5 separate regions of the Homo sapiens genome follow, and all the other regions are linked to region 4. The links are contacts of gene promoters, found by promoter capture Hi-C in blood cells and fetal thymus (Javierre and others, 2016). All regions are on one chromosome and are shown on one strand. Each heading gives the region's core, a stretch centred on a gene start or on the middle of the fragment in contact. The rest is flanking DNA. Distances are from core to core; before and after follow the strand shown.

Region 1 (2,700 bases), core at 78-2,577, 300 kb before region 4:
ACTTGGCCTTCCCGGTCTGGTTTTCCCACTACCTGCTGCTTCATCTGACCCTGAGATCTTGCCATCTGGATTCCCGTGTTCCCTGCGTGGTCTGTACTAAGCAACCTGGACTTGACAGCCCCCCGCCAGACTCCACACATTCCTCTGTGCCCCAGGGACCTGGCCTTGCAGCTGCTTTTGGGCCCCCGCTCCAACCTGACTCCACCATGGTCATGGCCTAAAGAGCTCTGTGTAGGCTGCTAACTATACAAAGGCCCCTCTGTGAATGCCAAAGAAAGCGAGCAGCTCAGGGGCAGCCGACGCCAAGCAGGGCCCCGGGTCCTTGGGCCAGCCCCAGTGCCAATCCATGTCAGGCAACCATGGCATTTACACAGGCGGGCTGCCATCCTCTACGAATCTGGAAATGGGTCTGCCTGGTTACAGGAATCCCATAAACACTCATGCAGAGGCAGGCGGGGCCAAAGACCCAGAAGGCTCCCAATTTTGTTTGAGAGGAGAAACACCCAGTCCCCAAAGCCACTGAGCAAAACATGTGATCCCCACCTTTAAACACTGCAGGGACTATGTCTCACTGAGGAGGAGGCACACACGTGGGAGCTGCAGGGAGACTCAGGCGTGGAGCCCAACCATGCCCCGGGCCCAACGAAGCCCCGAGCCCAACCATGCCCAGAGCGGGCCCTCCCTGAGCAAGAGCTGTTCTACCCCAGGGTGTGGGCTCCACCTTTGCTGGCACAGCGCAGACAGGAGGTAAAGTCACCAATGGCCAATCTCAACAGTCCAGGAATGATGAGATGTGGACGCGCAGCCTCGGCCACCCTGCGCCCCAGCACTTCTCTGTCCCCAGAACTGCTTCTCTGGACAGAAGGTGTGAGGCCAACAGAACTCCTGGGTCCTCCTCCTTTGGATGGCATGAATTCCTGGGCCCACTTCAGAGCCCATACACCAGCAGAGAATGCCAGCAGGAATCTCCCCTTCTCTGTCCTCTGTCCTGGAGGGCAGCCTCCTGGAGGCCTGGGAGGAGGGAGGAGGCACTATCTTCCCATCTTGGGATTCCTCACCACCGGCTCCTGAAAACAGCCTCGACAGCTCAGGGGGAAGACGCAGTGGACACGGGGGCAGGGAAGTGCTGGCTAGAGAAGGGCGGAGTCCCTCGCCGGGGCTCCACCCTCAGGCCTGTGCCTGCGGACTTAAGTGAGAACAAGCACTCCTGTTTTTATGTCCGAATGTTGCATTTTCCAAGACCACTCTGGCCTGTCATGCCCCCCATCTTGTGCCCATAGAAACCCCAGATCTTAGCAGGCTCAGACACACAAGCGGCTGAACACGGAGAGGAGCAGAGGAACAGAGCGACAAAAAGCAGTAGGGCAGCACGGCAGAGAAGGACCTAAGGGGCCGAGAACAGCTGGACTTCAGGGGAAGACCACCTTCCCACTCCATGCCTCCTCCCGACTCTCCATCCATCTTGCTGAGAGGCACCTCCACTACTCAATAAAATCTTGCACTCATCCTTCGAGACCACGTGTGATCCTATTTTTCCCGCACACTAGGCAAGAGCTCCAGATGATAGAGAAAGCTGTCACACTTTGTCCATTGAGCTGATTAACACACAAGCCATCTGCAGATGGCAAACCTGAAAGAGCCTGTAACACACTGCTCACTTGGGCTTCGGGAGGCACGGACATCCGCCCCTAGATGCTGCGTGGGGCAGGATCCCAAAAGCACTCGCCCCAGCCTCTGTACCTTCCTGTCTGCATGCTCCCGCCAGGGGTTTGATCTGCAGGATGACCAAGCAGGCAACACCCCTGTCGCATGTCCTGCGAGGGGAATCAGGGAACTGTCCCATTTCACCAGCAGCCCCATGTCCTGCGAGGGGAATCAGGGAACTGTGCCATTTCACCAGCAGCCCCATGGCCCTCCTTGCCCATGATTTGCTGGTGGGGTAGACACAGGAGGAAGGTGGTCCATGGAGTGGGGGGTCCCACCCCTTCATGCCCACCATCTGAGAAGGCCAGGACTTCTTGTGTGGTTTTGGGAGATGAGAATCCAGCTGCTCCCTGGTCTGTTGGGCCCTGGGCAGCGCCTGGACCTGAGGTGGAATGGGCAGAGGTGCAGGAAGGGGAAGCACGCCTAGCCCTGCTGGTCCAAAGTGGGCCCATTCCTGTCGCCGTTGCACGCAACTTCTTGCTGACAGCCTTTCTTGCTGCTGCTTCTTGGCGGCAGCAGCTATAATTTCCCCATATAGCATCTAATTTGAACTTCTACAAGCCTCCTCCCCTTAAAATGCTTAATTATTATGTTCTTCTAAAATATCAGAGGGAATCTTCCCAGCCGTAAGAATTTCCCCGGAGGAGAAAAGGATAAACCAGCAATTAGTGTCATGAACTCAGATCCTGGAAACTCCATGTGGGTCCAGGGGATGTGTTCAGCCCCAGGACTCCACCTGGGAGGGCGCGCCTGCTAGGAAACCAAGGGCACGCTGACTTGCCTGAAAGGCTGTTAGGGTGGCAAGCATGGCATGGGGCTAAAGTGCACCTCTGCCTTCACTTCTGCTGCTTCTGACTCATGTTTTTCCCTGGGCGCCCTGCTTCTCTGACAGCACAAAGCCACTCTCACCCCCAAAGCCCACCAAGCCACAGTGCTCAAGCAGGGTTAGTCCTTTACTGCTTTACTTCCTTTTCCAGAACATTACCTTTACCTTCA
Region 2 (2,700 bases), core at 96-2,595, 410 kb before region 4:
AGTCAAGGAGGCTTTATTAAATCCAGGCAGGAGGTCAACTGGGTAGGGAAAGTATGTCATAATCCTATTTTAAAGACTTCACATGATCTCTATCACCTACTCTGCCCTTAGGTCATTGATGACCTGCTATATTTATTTTCTTCTATTGCATAACAAAATACAAGAAATTTATTGACATAAAACATTAGCCTTTTATTATCTCACAGTTACAAGGAGTCAGGAATCCAGGCATAGTGTGGCTGGGGTCTCTGCTCAGAGTCTTACAGACTGAAATCCGGGTGTTTGCTGGGCTGAATTCCTTCTGGAGCTTGGGGTTGTGGGCAGAAACCAGTTCCTTGTAGCTGTAGAAATGACATCCTATTTTGTCTTTGCTGGTTGGTGAGAGTCACTCTTAGCCTTTGAAGGGGGCCATGCGGCTAGGACCTGAGGTAAGTAGTTCATAACAAGGCCATTTGCTTCTTTGGGGCCAGCTGTGAATTACTAGACAGTCTGCTCAGATGGAGTCTCATATAACAGCACCTAATCAAGGGAGCAGTGATCCCATTATAGTCACAGATCCCACCCACAAAAATGGAGAGGGGTGCCAAAGATGGGAATCTCGAGGGCCATCTCAGAATCAGGTCTGCAAACCTGCAACTTGTCGCATCCAGTCGGGAAACTTCACTTCTTTTGGTATTTGACTCTAGAACAGTTGGCACCATTGGCCACTCCCACCTTGAAATTCATTCAATGACTCCTATTTATTTATTATTTTTATTTTTTATTTTTGGCTCTCACTATGTTGCCCAGGATGGAGTGAAGTGGCTATTTCTAGGTGTGATCATTGCACACTACAATCTTGAGCTCCTGGGCTCAAGCATGGGACACTGAGCCCAGCCCAGCTTATCCATTCTACTTTTGATGACCATTTGAGGGATCTCTAGTTTGGTGATTTGTATTAGTTATCTTGCTGTGTGACAAATCATGCCAAAACACAGTGGATTAAAACACCATGTATTATGTGACAGTTTCTGTAGATTGAGACTCCAGGCATGGACTCTTGGCTAGGTCCTCTGGCTCTGGTCTCTCACAAGACTGTAATCAAGGTGTTAGCTGGGGCTATGGTCTCATCTTAAGGCTTGAGCTGGGGATGATTCGATGCTGAATTCGCTTAAGTGGTTGTTGGCAAGAACCATTTTATCACAGGCTGTTAGACTGATGGCTTCAGTTCCTCACCAGCTGTTGGCAAGAGGCTTCCCTTGAGTCCTTGCCATATGGGTCCTTCCATAGGGCAGCTGACAATATGACAGCCAGCTTCATGAGAGCAAGCACGCAAGAGGGCCAGAGAGAGAGTGTGAGCAAGGCAGAAGTCACATCCTTTTGTAATCTAATCTCAGAAGTGATATCCCATCAATTTTGTCATGCTCTATTTGTTAGAAGAAGTTGCTGGGTCCAGTTCACACTTAAGGAGAGAAGATTACAGAAAGGCATGAATATCAGGAGGCAGAAATCTTAGGGAGCCATCATAGAAGCTGTCTAGTACAAAGGATATAACAAACAATGCTGCCTTACAGATTTTCGTATATATATTGTGGCATATGAGCATATCAGGTTATGCACCTAGGCATGGAGTTCCTAGGTCTTAGGGCATGTGAATCTTCAAGTTTCCATGACAGTGCCAAACTTCTACCAAGTGGTTATACCAATTCACATTTCCACTAGCAACAAGTGAGAATTCTGTTTGCACCATATCGTCACCAACACTTTTTATTGTCAGACATTTTATTTTTGGCCAATATGATTTATATAATATGTGATGTATTATAGCTTTAATTTGCATTTCTAAGATTTCTAATGAGGTTTGGTACTTTTTCATTTATTTATTGGTCATCTTATATTTCCTCTTTTATGAAGTATCTGCCTGTATCTTTTGTCCATTTTTCTACTGACTTTTCTTACTGATTTGTATGAGTTCTGAAGATAATCTGGATGCTTGGGCTGTGGCAGTTATATGTGTTGCAAGCATCTCTCTGGTTTTGTTTCCTATCTTTTTATTCTTTTAAATATGTCTTTTGATGAACACAAGGTCTTCATTTTAAGGCAGTTGAATTTATCAATCTTTTCCTTTATGAACTCTTGGACTAAGCCTGTCTTCTAGCTATTGTTTTCCGCCTATGTCTCCAACTGTCCCCCCATCTTTGATCCCCCCATTGTCTCCATATAAACATCTTTTCTATGCTCTGGACACATGACTTCAACTGCTCACTCGATGGCTCCACCTCCATATCCCACAGTCAGTCCAACACCAGTTTATCCCAAAATGAACTCATCCCTCCAAGTTCACCTTCCGCCACCCTACCACCCCTAGCTTGTATTTCCTAACTCCATGACTGACACAACTATCCACCAATCACAAAGCCAGTGTCTTGTGAATTTGCCCTGACTGCTCTTTCTCTTATAAGGATCCAGTTTTTCTGATTCTACAATCTAAACCTTGCCCCACTCTGTCTTCTCCTCTACATCTCCAGTGCCAGAATGTAAGTTCCATGAGACCAGGGACCTTGTCCAGCTTGTTCATTACCACAATATCAGTAAGGGATGGTGCTTAACAGCATGAATTTTGCAGCCCAATTACCTGATTCAAATCCTGACTCCATCAATTATTAGGTATCTAAGTAAGTGGAAGTTATATGACCTCTTCTCCCGCAGTTTCCCCATTGG
Region 3 (2,700 bases), core at 54-2,553, 320 kb before region 4:
AAGCTCTTCATGAAAGATGAAATTTCCCACTATGAAATTCTACAAAGAAAGCATTACATGAACCTCTTATAAGGAGCAGTGAAAAATACAGGAAGAGATACAGGAAGAGACATTGGAGCAAGGCATGATTTGGTGGTTTATTGTAGTGTTTGTTTTTGGTTTTCTAATCCATTTTGTGAGTATATTGAGTAAAGGATTTCCTTGCTATTAGCTAGTGTATATCCTGTAAATTTTACATTAATCTGATAAAGTCCATCTTTCCTACAGACCCTTCAGCACCCATAAGCACTCCTACAAATACAAAACTATGCAAAGAGGACTTTTTCTTTTTTTGAGATGGAGTCTCCCACTGTTGTCCTGGCTGGAGTGCAGTGGCACAATCTCAGCTCACTGCAACCTCTACTTCCCAGGTTCAACCGATTCTCCTGCCTCAGCCTCCCGAGTAGTTGGGATTACATGCTCCCGCCACCACGCCCAGCTAATTTTTGTATTTCTAGTAGAGATGGGGTTTCACTATGTTGGCCAGGCTGGTCTCGAATGCCTGGCCTTGTGATTCACCCACCTCGGCCTCCCGAAGTACTAAGATTACAGGTGTGTGCCACTGCGCCCAGCCGCAAGGAGGACTCAAATAGCAGGGCAGCTGGCCACATAGGATCTGGGTCAACAGTGGCTTGCTGATATTGCAGCTGGGAGTAAATAAGTCCATGGGAGCCTCATGGGTTCTCCAAGCCCTGCACAGTCTCCAGTCTCCGCCACACATACACATAGGATCACTTACTGTCTGCAGTTTTCCAAAGGAAACATCCAGAGTCCAACCCTCTCACCTCTGAGTTCCATCCTCTGTCCTGATGAAATTTGAATGAAATCCATGATCTAAGTCAAATTACCTATGACAACCCATCAATTATCAGTGCTATGCACCTAATTTGGAGAAACAACTGGTATTGAAGAGGACATAAGTCTAATGTTAATCAAGCATGGACTCATGGAGAACCAGGACAGCCACTTTGTTCTTCCTGAGTCCTTAAAGCTTTTGTTATTAAAAGTTCTGCATTCCATGACTCATCATGGGAAAGACAAAATAATCCAAATTAAATATATTGGTGTGGTAACTTATAAATTGCTAAAATAGCTTATAACCAATGTTTGGTTTGTTAACCCATATTCCTGGGAAAAACAATCAAAGCTTCAGGTACATTTGGTTACCTGATGGGCCATTTAAACATTTTATAAAAGGATTTCATTCAATTGTTATTTTCGGTGCATGTTTTCTAGTTGTATAAAAGCTCTTCCGTGCAAGAGTGCTGATATTATGTAATAGATTATTATGCTACATGTATGAAGCATAATAATATAATAATAATAAGATGTAGTAGATTACTGTGTTACAGTATATTTTCACCAGGTAAAGAAAGCTTTTTGTGATTCACTGAGGACAGTCAACCCCTTCATCATCTAGAACCTGAAAATTGCATCTTCTGAAAACATCAGAGAAAGACTGTCCTTGCCATTCACACTGCAACAAAACTTTAGGATCTTGAAACTTGGGTTCATAATCGCACAACTGAGAAGGGTCCCTCCACGCTCTTGGAACTATACACCCAGTGGAAACTTTAAGGTAAAGCTAACCAAGGAAGTCTCTCCCCAGACGAATATGGCAACCTTGATGTGAATGGCTTTTCCTAAGATCGTGGATGAAGACTTCTACTGTCATGAGACTCTTATCTTTGAAAATTTTTTCCTTGCTTATGCCTCTGTGAACAATAGAAATGAAGAGGGTGTCTGCTGCATGCACTTATGGGGTATACTTTTATTTGTGAAGGATTTTGCAGCCAGCCTTATACATGGATAACCTTATACTTTGATAGACAAAAGATGAAGGCCCGATGTGGGGAACTTTAATGGTACATACGTTGCCTCATAGTCAGTCAGAAACAGTACATTGGTTCACTCCTCTTAACCCGTATCATGGATTAAAGAGAACATTGCCAGGAGGCCTTCACTCTTCTAGAAGGGCATCATTTGTTAGGTCCTTTTTCCATGTTTTTGAATAAAAGAGGTGATGATCAGAGATGTATCCCTTACAATAGGCTCTATAGCAGATTTTACTGTAAAGGCTGTAGTTACACAGAAGACTTTCAATTCTCTTGTGAAAGTTAAGGTAAGTAATAGAACTGGCTAGACAGAAAAGTGTCTATGTATCTGCTGGCACTTCTGGCCTAGGGAGATATACATAAGGTATTACAGAGATTCCGTTGTAGGGGATTAACAAAAAGACCACTTAGTTAAGCGAGTGGACTGTTTAGCTTGCTCTTTGATCTATTTGATTTTAGGTGGTTTGGTTTTTGGGAACCCTGGGTAAGGAGCATATTCCAAACTCTTGTTATTATCCTGTAGATAGTCATAATAACAGTCTCTCTGGTGCTCTGTGTTCTCTCAAAGGTTTTAATGCTTGCATGCAGCCAACTCTAGAATGTTAAATGGTCTCTATTCAACTGTAATGACAAAAGCTGAAAGAAATGTGTGACCAGGAGGACACTGTAAGCTATGAATGACATGCTGAGAAGGGAAACTGAAAATGGTGGTAACCAAGAGTGGCGCTAAAGCCCTAAGTTTTGGTCGCACTCTCACCTAAGTGAGAACCTGGCCAAAAAGGGGGAATTTTTAAAAATAAAATTATGGGAGGCCATTGTTTTGGAC
Region 4 (2,700 bases), core at 189-2,688:
TGGAGTGGTGCAGTGGTGCAACCTCGACCTCCCACAGGCACGTGCCACACGCCCAGCCTTTTTTTTTTTTTTTTTGCAGTTTTTGTAGAGACGGAGTCTCCCTATATTGCCCAGGCTGGTCTTGAACTTCTGGACTCAAGCGATCCTCCTGCCTCAGCCTCCCAAAGTGCTGGGATTACAGGCATGAGCCACTGCGCCCGGCTCAGTTTAATTCTTGGGAGCACCTCTACCTTTTGTTTCTTAAAAACCCCAAATACAGACTATGAAGGATAGTTCCTAAGTATATAATGTAATTAACAGGCCATATAATCTCTCTGACCTTTTAAATATTGTATTACCCCAGGGCTCAGTGATTGGACCTCTTCTCTTTCCTATCTGCTTTCTTGATGATCTCCTTTGGCCCTGTGGCTTTCAATACTATCCACACACAGATGATTGTAACATTTATATTCTCCAGGTCAGACTTTTTCCCTGAGTCTCACAGATCCAACTACCTGCTTGACATCTCTTCTTAGTTGTCTAATGGACATCTCAATCCTAATTTGTCTAAATCTTTGCTCATGCTTTCAGTGCAACTCTCCCTCCATCCCCCCAACACACACATACTCACACATTTACCTCTACTCTTCTGGCAGCCTTCTCATCTCAATAAATGGCAACTCTGTTCTTCCAGTTGCTCAGGCCAACAACACTAAAGTCATTCTTGGTTCTTCTTTAATCACACCTCACATCAAATCTGCCAGGAAATTGTCTTGGATATTTCTGGAATCATACTTTTCATTACTCCACTGCTACCACCCTGGTCTATCATCTCTCACCCTTGCCGTCGTCTCTCACCTAGATTATTGCAGCAGCCTCCTAATTGGCCCCCTCCAGTCTACGCTCGAAAAGGAGCCAGAATTGTTAAATCCTAAGTGAGACCATGTCATGTCTTTGCTTAAAACTCTCCAGTGGGTTCCCGTCTCACCTAGAGTAAAAGCCAAACTCCTCATAATGGCCTACAAGGCTGTATACCTAACCCCTACGAGCTTTCTGACGCCATCTTGTACTACTCTCCCACCACTGACATCACTCTAACCCCACGGGCCTTCTTCCTGCAATTCCCTGACCACACAGGTCCGCCCTCTCTCTCTGCAGAGAGCTCTCTGCTGGCTGCTCTATTAGTCTTTCTTTCCTTAGACTGTTTCCTTGCTCATTTCCAGTCTTTAACTCAAATGGAGACTACACTGAGCTCCGCTTTCAAGGCAACCTCCCATTGCCTTCACCACCACCCTCTGCATCTTACCTCCTGTTTCATTTTTTCTCCTTAGCACTTACCAACACTGAACACTCCATATTCCACCTGTCTCTGTCTTCCCTTTCCTCCCTGTCCTGCCCCTTGGCAGAGGGGGAGGGTTTTACCTGTTATGTTCACTGCTGTATCTTCTGCCCCTATGATGCCTTACACGTAGCTGGAACTCAGTATTTGTTTAACAAATGAATCATACATTTAGTTAAGGTTAATGGGTGGGAGGAGTTATATAACAGATTGGAAAAATAAGAACAGACTTGTAACTGTCTTTATTTCCTGCTTTAGAAATTACTATCTTCATTTAATATTTTTCTGATTACATCTATCTACTAATCATTTCAATTAGCTCCTTCACTGAAACACAGCATTGTAATCTGTACCAAGAAAATAACACACTAGTTCTACATCTTGGCATTTAACTTCAATAAGTAAATATACTATTTTAAGTATGTAACACTTAAACATTTTCTAGAGCTCTTTCCATTTTCATTTATCTAGAAAATGTTTTCAAATGGACTGTTAAAATTCAGCTAAGAACTGATGTTGGGTCATTACGCTGGAGCTAATTAGCATTGCTTGCCTGGAGCTGCTGGTCCCCCTTCCTGCTTCCACCTTTCCTTTTTTCTGAGGTGGTTGAAAGGTCAAACCCCTGGTGAGAGGAGAGAACCAAAGCCCCACTGCGTGCCTCAGATGCAGAGTTTCACAGCGTGGTATTCACTGGGTATTCACCGACATTTCTCTAGGCCCCTTCACCTGAAGGAACTGGCCTGCTCCAATCAGTGACTTGCAGTGTGTGTGTCAGGGGCAAGGATAGAGTGAGGAAAAATGTGAAATAACAAATCACTGCCGCTCCTTGAGAATTACAGGAGCATCACCTGGCAGGATTTTTGTATCCTTATTTTCAGTATTAAACCACATACATGCACCCCACTGCCTGCATGCCTGTCCATGCCTGTCCCACTGTGGTGTTTCACAGCATTTTTTACATCATGGCAGATAGAGAAAATTAGTTGTTTGGAATTCTGGAGGCGACCAGCCTGGGAGCTCCAGCCACCTTAAGTGCTGCCCAGCTAGACACCCAGAAGGCTTCGATCAATAGCTTGAGACAAACTACTTGAGAAGCTCTGCATTAGAGAAGCAAATTCAAGTCTTGACATTTTCTCAGGGGAGTGCTCTGAAAGTGACTATATAAGCTTCTACCGACCTCAAGCAAATCACAGGCATTAGATACATTAAATTGCTGAAGTGATAGCTCTGGCTTTTTGGATATGCACAATCAAATATAGTTTTCTGTTTTATAATTTGTCAACTCCCCTTCCAGATTAACTATTTTGATCCCTTTATTACTATAACATTCTTAAATATTTAAATTTTAAGCAAATTATTCAAATGTCAAATAAAATCTTTAG
Region 5 (2,700 bases), core at 4-2,503, 280 kb before region 4:
TTGCTCTCAGGGAGGAAGCGCCTGGGGCTGGAGGTGTTGAGGAAGTGCCTGCTGGCACCAGTGTCTAACTGTGGCACTGTGAGGAGGCTGGGGCTCCTGTTTCCTTCTCTGGAATTCACTCCTTGAATAGGGGCCTGGGTGGGACTAAGGGAGCAGCAGGCTGGGGCAAGAGTTTCCTGCTGCCTGTAAGGAGAGACAGGACCCGGCCACCTTGCATTTTTATTTGTCTCACCTTAAGCCCTGCCAGTGCCCTTGGCAGGTAGATGTAGGGAGGCACTGTTCGGCCTCAGAGCTGATGGGGATGTTGGCCTCAACCTGTGACAGATGCCTTTTGGAGGTGTCTTCTCCACCTTCCTTCTGCTGCCCAGGGAGAAGCCAGAGTGATGTTCTCGTGGCTCTGTTGCTCCTTGGCTGCGATGGTTGAACATCATCCTGCAGAGACCTGACCCCGGGGAACTGACCCAGAGGCCAGACTGGCCCAGTCAGATTGTCGCTCTTGAAATTTGCAACTCGGACTCTAACAGCCTGGGTCAGTTTGCTGCTGGAGCTGGGTGGTGCGGACCCAGGGCTGAGGGCACCATTTTGGAGTAGCCCCGACAAACCAAGTGCAAAGTGAGCAGAGAAAGTCAATCCAGAGAGAGAGAGGGAGGAGAAAGAGAGAGAGAGTGAAGGAAGCGGACACAGAGACAAACCGAGAGAGACAGCAGAGACAGAGACCAGGGGAGAGATTTCTTGCTTCCAGCCCCTTGGGAAGCCTGCCCATGGGTTCCATGAGGCACCCCAATTCTTCTCGCAAAAATCTTTTTACTCTGCTTAAAATAGACCAAGCTAGTTTCTGTTCCATAAAAGTCCGTCATTCAGGGCTGAGTGTAGTGGTTCACGCCTGTAATCCCAGCACTTTGGGAGGCCGAGGCAGTCAGATCACCTGAGGTCAGGAGTTCAAGACCAGCCTGGCCAACATGGTGAAATCCCATCTCTACTAAAAATACAAAAATTAGCTGGGTGTGGTGGCATTTTCCTGTAATCTCTACTACTTGGGAGGCTGAGGCAGGAGAATCACTTGAACCAGAGAGGCAGAAATTGCAGTGAGCCGAGATCATGCCACTGCACTCCAGGCTGGGAGACAGAGCAAGACTCTGTCTCAAAAAATAAAATGTCCATCATTCAAATAAGGTTCATCCATGGAGGTAGCTAAGGCCAGGCTGCAGGACAATGCTGAGCCCAGAGGCCAGGTCAGAACCAGGGATGTCCAGCCTGGATGGTACTTCGTCTGTCTCCAAGGAGTCCTGGGAGCTGAGGGGAGCACAAAGATCACAGACTGGCCTTGACTTTGGTCCTGATGTGGGTGGGGGCGTGTGTGGATCCTGTGAGGTCTACAAGCTGCCTCTTCCCTCAGGAATCCATGACTTCGTCCGGCCCATTGGCCCCCAGCTCTGCTCACGGCCATCAGAGATTTTGGGCAATGAGACTTGCTACCTCCACCCTGGCTCCTTCCTGATATCAGGGAGCAATTGGCCAGGGAATAGCCCAATATCCAGTTTCTGGGAAAGGTGGACAACATTATTTGAACCTGAAACATGCCAGAGGTAATCAGATCAGTCACAGAAAACTGAGAAGCCTGTAATTTATGGAGAAGAGCTTGGAGACAGGAACCACCAGCCCTCTCCAGTTGTCCCTAGGGGGTGGGGAAGGTGCCAACATGAAAGATTCACCTACCCCTGGCAGAGTGACCCTCTCTCACTGAGGGAGCTTGGGTCTGATCCGTAGGCAGGGACAGAGGGCTGCAGGACTTCACAAGTTTCTGTTCCCACCAGGCCGGATCAGACTGGCTCCAAGGACAGCTCCTAAGCCTCAGCGGCTGTTTCTGAGGTCCTGGAGCTCTGGATGGCTGCTGGGGGGTTCTGAGGATCTTTGTCATCCCAGATTCCCCTGCGATACCCATGTTAAGTGCCTGAGCCACTGGGCCTCCCAAAGGCCTTTGGGCTATTTCTGGCTGTTTTGATCCACCATGATGGGGGCACCTTCTCCTCAACCTCATCTCCTGGAGAAAGCCCTGGTCAGGATTTTCCCAGCCCAGACCTCAGTTTACCGGCCAATTACTTTCTTATGAGAACCCTAAAAGTTCAGAATTCAAAGATGTTGAGGGACAAATAGAAGTCATGTTTATAAGGAGGGAAAAGAGGATGCTGGTGGTGGATCTCTGGTCCCATCACAGAGACGAGGGGAGATGGGTTACTTGCAGGCCTCGTCTCTACGTGCTGGTTTACTGGAAGGGAACAGGAGAGGGTGAGGGATTGAGGAATGCAGACAGGAACTCACCTTTATTGGATTCCTATTAAATCTCATTTAATCCTTGACGTCTTCTTATAAAGCATTACTGCATTCCCTTTCAGATGAGGAAATTGAGGCTTAAAGAATTGAGTAATATGCCTACGCTCACGGGTGTGTGCTACTCTACCGCTGTAGGCAGACATACCCGGGTCTGGCCTCCCCACCTCACTCCTCATCATCAGCCTCCCATTGAAGTTTGGCAGCACTCATTAAGCCATTTAATAAGATTTACATACAGTCATGTGCCGTGTAGCAGCATTTCTGTCAATGATTGGCCACTTACATGATGGTGGTCCCATGAGATTATAAAGGAACCAAGAAAATCCCTGTCACCTAGGGATGCCACAGCACAACCCATTACCTTTTCTA

The links. The method cuts DNA at HindIII sites, captures the fragments that hold promoters and counts their contacts. A CHiCAGO score of 5 or more calls a contact.
Region 1: a contact is called between a fragment that was not itself captured here and the fragment with the promoter of FAM177B in region 4, in 1 of 17 cell types (megakaryocytes). The highest score is 5.3, in megakaryocytes.
Region 2: a fragment that was not itself captured here is called in contact with the fragment with the promoter of FAM177B in region 4 in 3 of 17 cell types (naive B cells, total B cells and megakaryocytes); the score reaches 7.2 in naive B cells.
Region 3: a contact is called between a fragment that was not itself captured here and the fragment with the promoter of FAM177B in region 4, in 2 of 17 cell types (megakaryocytes and erythroblasts). The highest score is 6.0, in megakaryocytes.
Region 5: a fragment that was not itself captured here is called in contact with the fragment with the promoter of FAM177B in region 4 in 3 of 17 cell types (naive B cells, megakaryocytes and erythroblasts); the score reaches 7.2 in naive B cells.

What each region holds. Positions count from the first base shown.
Region 1 is chr1:223,036,450-223,039,149 of GRCh38, reverse strand. No RefSeq gene overlaps it. Among named protein-coding and RNA genes, the nearest start is that of TLR5, 110 kb to the left of the region's middle. RefSeq lists enhancers at 460-1,139, 1,820-2,500. The HindIII fragment of the contact is 4,357 bases long and covers 1-2,700 here.
Region 2 is chr1:223,146,629-223,149,328 of GRCh38, reverse strand. It overlaps LOC124904522 (a long non-coding RNA gene), which reads right to left. Exons shown (of 2, transcript XR_007066895.1): 2 at 172-1,441. Among named protein-coding and RNA genes, the nearest start is that of TLR5, 4.7 kb to the right of the region's middle. The HindIII fragment of the contact is 4,461 bases long and covers 1-2,700 here.
Region 3 is chr1:223,057,644-223,060,343 of GRCh38, reverse strand. LOC124904520 (a long non-coding RNA gene) reads right to left here and starts at 39. Exons shown (of 2, transcript XR_007066890.1): 1 at 1-39. The HindIII fragment of the contact is 229 bases long and covers 1,189-1,417 here.
Region 4 is chr1:222,735,940-222,738,639 of GRCh38, reverse strand. FAM177B (family with sequence similarity 177 member B) reads right to left here and starts at 1,438. Exons shown (of 6, transcript NM_001394345.1): 1 at 1,318-1,438; 2 at 619-736. RefSeq lists an enhancer at 1,655-2,196. The HindIII fragment of the contact is 3,071 bases long and covers 1-2,486 here.
Region 5 is chr1:223,020,026-223,022,725 of GRCh38, reverse strand. No RefSeq gene overlaps it. Among named protein-coding and RNA genes, the nearest start is that of TLR5, 120 kb to the left of the region's middle. RefSeq lists an enhancer at 1-73. The HindIII fragment of the contact is 3,936 bases long and covers 1-2,700 here.